Linked DNA regions of Homo sapiens: region 2 is linked to region 1. Evidence: promoter capture Hi-C in human tissues and cell types (Jung and others, 2019). All regions are on one chromosome and are shown on one strand. Each heading gives the region's core, a stretch centred on a gene start or on the middle of the fragment in contact. The rest is flanking DNA. Distances are from core to core; before and after follow the strand shown.

Region 1 (2,700 bases), core at 137-2,636:
CCTCCATCTAGTCTCCAAACTGAGGCTGTGGCCCTGCAGAGAGCGCCACCCGGAAGCCACTTTTATAGAAGCTTTTACACACAATGCTTGATTTTTTTTTTTTTTTTTCCGAGACGGAGTCTCGCTTTGTCGCCCAGGCTGGAGTGCAGTGGCGCGATCTGGGCTCACTGCAAGCTCCGCCTCCTGGGTTGACGCCATTCTCCTGCCTCAGCTTCCCGAGTAGCTGGGACTACAGGCGCCCGCCACCAAGCCTGGCTAATTTTTTTTTATTTTTAGTGGAGACAGAGTTTCACCGTGTTAGCCAGGATGGTCTCGATCTCCTGACCTCGGGATCCGCCCGCCTCGGCCTCCCAAAGTGCTGGGAGTATAGGCGTGAGCCACCGCGCCTGGCCTATACTTGATTTTTAATGAAAACATTCTTAAATTCATATGGCTAACGCAAATTTATTTTCTGTAGGCATAACATCAAAAACACCTGGCAGGATTGCCCCATTCCCAGCACTGTCTATTTCTCCCCTAGTATCAGTGGGACTCCACTGATGCACAGCTGTGATCTACTAAAACTTCTCTCAAAACTTTCTCCTCTCCTTAGGTCAGCAGCCCCGCCCCTGATCTATTTGGAAATCCCCTGAATAAAAGTTGAATATCATAAACCAAAGCGAACACCCAGAAATTCAAATTCAACCCGTAGGTAAAAAATTTCTCAAGTGACTGTAGACGTAGATGTCTCCAGTGTCGCCTAATAAGGTAGAAGAGGCCAGTGCGATACTGTCTTTACACCCTTAACTTGGGTGCTAGAATATTTATCTTCGTCATCATTTTATCATCCAAACTATTTTGCATAACTTTCATGGGTGCAGAAAATGTTTTTTAAGTGCTTGGTAAAATTAATAGTGATATTCATTCATTCATCTCACTGAACAGGCAATAAATTCCTTGACGACAAGGGCCTTGGGGGGGTCACATCTTCATCTTTGGTTTATGAGTCCTGTGCGTCTTGGTACAAGCAATACTACTATGAGCCGGCAAGTCAGACTTATTTGGTAGGGGACCAAAGGAAAGAACATGTTTTGATTGCTAAGAAAACATTTTGTTCTCTATCCTTTACTGGGCTGGCAGGCAAAGGAAATGTTCTTATGAGCACTCACATTGAAAACTTAAGTTCTTCACCAAATGCAGAGACTCTGAAGGCCACGCCGCTGCGGGCTGCCTCCACAATTCGACCGTCTCGGCGGGCCACGAGATCCTGGCCACGGATGCGGTGGCCGCGCCTCTGCTCGCACGTTCCCCCGGCCTCTGGACTCCCTCCCTCCCTCAATCCCTCCCTCCGGCGGGCGTCGCTGGCGGGTGGCTAGGCCCAACGGCAGGAAGCCGACGCTATCCTCCGTTCCGCGGCGCCGGGTCCGCCTTCCGTCTGTTCTAGGGCCTGCTCCTGCGCGGCAGCTGCTTTAGAAGGTCTCGAGCCTCCTGTACCTTCCCAGGGATGAACCGGGCCTTCCCTCTGGAAGGCGAGGGTTCGGGCCACAGTGAGCGAGGGCCAGGGCGGTGGGCGCGCGCAGAGGGAAACCGGATCAGTTGAGAGAGAATCAAGAGTAGCGGATGAGGCGCTTGTGGGGCGCGGCCCGGAAGCCCTCGGGCGCGGGCTGGGAGAAGGAGTGGGCGGAGGCGCCGCAGGAGGCTCCCGGGGCCTGGTCGGGCCGGCTGGGCCCCGGGCGCAGTGGAAGAAAGGGACGGGCGGTGCCCGGTTGGGCGTCCTGGCCAGCTCACCTTGCCCTGGCGGCTCGCCCCGCCCGGCACTTGGGAGGAGCAGGGCAGGGCCCGCGGCCTTTGCATTCTGGGACCGCCCCCTTCCATTCCCGGGCCAGCGGCGAGCGGCAGCGACGGCTGGAGCCGCAGCTACAGCATGAGAGCCGGTGCCGCTCCTCCACGCCTGCGGACGCGTGGCGAGCGGAGGCAGCGCTGCCTGTTCGCGCCATGGGGGCACCGTGGGGCTCGCCGACGGCGGCGGCGGGCGGGCGGCGCGGGTGGCGCCGAGGCCGGGGGCTGCCATGGACCGTCTGTGTGCTGGCGGCCGCCGGCTTGACGTGTACGGCGCTGATCACCTACGCTTGCTGGGGGCAGCTGCCGCCGCTGCCCTGGGCGTCGCCAACCCCGTCGCGACCGGTGGGCGTGCTGCTGTGGTGGGAGCCCTTCGGGGGGCGCGATAGCGCCCCGAGGCCGCCCCCTGACTGCCGGCTGCGCTTCAACATCAGCGGCTGCCGCCTGCTCACCGACCGCGCGTCCTACGGAGAGGCTCAGGCCGTGCTTTTCCACCACCGCGACCTCGTGAAGGGGCCCCCCGACTGGCCCCCGCCCTGGGGCATCCAGGCGCACACTGCCGAGGAGGTGGATCTGCGCGTGTTGGACTACGAGGAGGCAGCGGCGGCGGCAGAAGCCCTGGCGACCTCCAGCCCCAGGCCCCCGGGCCAGCGCTGGGTTTGGATGAACTTCGAGTCGCCCTCGCACTCCCCGGGGCTGCGAAGCCTGGCAAGTAACCTCTTCAACTGGACGCTCTCCTACCGGGCGGACTCGGACGTCTTTGTGCCTTATGGCTACCTCTACCCCAGAAGCCACCCCGGCGACCCGCCCTCAGGCCTGGCCCCGCCACTGTCCAGGAAACAGGGGCTGGTGGCATGGGTGGTGAGCCACTGGGACGAGCGC
Region 2 (2,700 bases), core at 145-2,644, 34 kb after region 1:
CAGCCTCTATATCATTCTTTTCTATAAGACCAAAACTGGATGATTCTCTGTAAGGGGAAGTGAGAAGAACCTCCTTTGTACCCTCCTGGATTCTACCCTGGGGGGAGCTTACACCATCCTGATCACTAACTGACTATATCGTGGCCATCTCTGATTTTGTCCTATAGACTTTTAAGATGTGAATAAAAATGTCTGTAAGGGGCTGGAAGTCCCGGAAGCACACATGGCCTCCATGTGTCTGCAGAAAACAGAAGCCCAGAAACCTTGTCTGTTTTCACGTCGGAAAAATGACAGTTCCTTCCTCTCTCCGCAGCCTTCCCCTTAATCTCTGAGGGTCTTCTCTGAGATTGTTTGGTCTAACCACTGATATAACTTTTTCAGAATTTTCAGAAATATGATTAACTTTTGATTATCTGGATTTCCCAGAGGTTGGGGGTTGTATATTCATAGTAAGAACCAGACTGTTTCTTTATGAGAGCAGTATAATTTCAGAGCAGCATCTGAAAATATTACTTGAGCCGATTTGAATTGCAGAGAATGAGAGCGGGAAGGCAAGCTTTGAAAGGTGTCCTGGAATGGTTGAGTTCAGATGCTTCTCGTCTCACAAGGACAGGAATGTCAGTGTCTGCTCGTATGTTCTTAAGAGGCCTGTTTCATGCATGATCCCATTTTAGCTCCCAAAGGTGTTATTAGGCTGCAAGTTTTAGGATTTATCCTGTGTCACTGTGCAAAAATCCTTGCTTTAAAGCAACTACTATGCATAGGCAAATACATTTTTAAATGGTGTGATTAATATTAACATGATGTGATTTCCTGATTAAAAAATTGTTTTTTGTTTGTCTTCTTCAGGTTCCAGTGGAATACCTGTGAAACTGGTTACAAACCTCTTTAACTTAGATTTTCCCCAAGACTGGCAGCTATACCAGTACCATGTGACATATATTCCAGATTTAGCATCTAGAAGGCTGAGAATTGCTTTACTTTATAGTCATAGTGAACTTTCCAACAAAGCAAAAGCATTCGACGGTGCCATCCTTTTTCTGTCACAAAAGCTAGAAGAAAAGGTATAGTATGATTAGTTTTTTTACTGTATATGTGGGTGTGTGTTTATTATATGTGTATACACACACACATATATATGCATATGCAAGGAGATTCCAAAAGGTTTGTGGAAAAATAGAATTAAAAGGTAAGAATTTAAAAAACTACCTTTATTTCTTACCAAGAGTTTTACCAAGGTCAAGACACTTTTATAAGCAATTATATCAGCCATTTAGTCCATCCCTAGAGAACTAAGGGTCCTGGGAATTTAACCACATCAGTGCAGTCTTTTTTAGCTTATTAACGAAAGAAAAATGGGTGCCCTTTACATTGTTTTATATTTTAAGATTATAAAACAAAAAAAGTCAGAAGGAGCCAAATCAGCAGTAAAGTGTATGCCTAATGATTTCCCATTGAAACTTTTGCAAACTTACCCTTGTTTGTTGAGAAGAATGAGTAGAAGCATTGTTGTGGTGCTTTCCAGGGAAGCTTTCCTGGCCATTTTTCTGCTCAAGCTTTGGCAAAGTTTCTCAAAACACTTTCATAATAAGCGGATGTTACCATTCTTTGGCCCTCCAGAAAGTCAACAAGCAGAATGCCTGGAGCATCTCAAGAAACTATTGCCATGACCTTTGCTCTTGATGGGTTGGCTTTTCCTTTGACTGGACCACTTCCACCTCTCGGTAGTGATTGCTCTGATTGTGCTTTGTCTTCAGGATCGTACTGGTAAAGCCAGGTTTCATCTCCTCTTACAATTTTTTGAAGAAATGCTTCAGGATCTTAATACCATTTATTTAAAATTTTTATTGACGGCTCTGCTCTTATCTGCAGCCGATCTGAATGCAATGAATTTGGCAAGCGTTGAATGGAAAGTTTGCTCAACTTTAATTTTTTAGTCAGAATTGTATAAGCTAAACAAATTGAGATGTCTGTGGTGTTGGCTATTGTTTCTGCTATTAATCTTTGGTCTTCTCAATTAGGGCATGAACAAGATGAATTTTTTTTCCTTGCAAATCTGTATAGATGGTCTGCAGCAGGCTTCATCTTCAACATTGTCTCATCCCTTCTTAAGATGAGTTATCCATTCGTAAACTGCTGATTTCTTTGGGGCATTGTTCCCATAAACTTTTCATTATACATCAATGATTTTGCCATTCTTCTACCCAAGTATCGCCAAAATTTGATGTCTGTTCTGGCTTCAATCATAGCAGAATTCATATTGCTCTGACAGGGTCTCTGTTCAAATTGAGGTCTTATTCTTAGTGTCTCACACTGGATCCTGTTAGTATGAGTTTATTTGGGTGCAAAATTTTTGAAATCCATGCATAGTTTTTTCATAATACATATTTTCCATGAACTTTTTGAGGTCTCCTCATATATACTTATATATTTAAGAGATTAGTTGATTTTCATGACAGTTGGAATGAGTGAATCACTCCTTTCCTTTTTCCTGTTCCCTTGCCTGAGAGCTAAAAAAAGACTTCCTAATTAAGATTTCACTAGTAATTGATTTCTTAATTATGAAGCTGGTGGTCTGGTATTTTTAAAATAAGAGCTGTAAGTGTCCTTGAAATTGGCACCTTAAAAAATAATTCCCAAAGTAGGCAAGACTAAGAAACACCATTTGGCCTATGGCTTCAGAACTTTAAATTAATTCTA

The links. Contacts are between HindIII fragments. The study calls those that stand out against the background at their distance.
Region 2: a fragment that was not itself captured here is called in contact with the fragment with the promoter of FUT4 in region 1 in 1 of the 25 tissues and cell types used here (H1 embryonic stem cells).

The regions. Positions count from the first base shown.
Region 1 is chr11:94,542,535-94,545,234 of GRCh38, forward strand. FUT4 (fucosyltransferase 4) reads left to right here and starts at 1,387. Exons shown (of 1, transcript NM_002033.4): 1 at 1,387-2,700. The coding sequence starts at 1,600. RefSeq lists a silencer at 1,575-2,144. The HindIII fragment of the contact is 7,218 bases long and covers 1-2,700 here.
Region 2 is chr11:94,576,429-94,579,128 of GRCh38, forward strand. It overlaps PIWIL4 (piwi like RNA-mediated gene silencing 4), which reads left to right. Exons shown (of 20, transcript NM_152431.3): 4 at 850-1,064. The region is part of intron 4 of PIWIL4-AS1 (PIWIL4 antisense RNA 1); the gene reads right to left. Among named protein-coding and RNA genes, the nearest start is that of PIWIL4, 10 kb to the left of the region's middle. The HindIII fragment of the contact is 5,000 bases long and covers 1-2,700 here.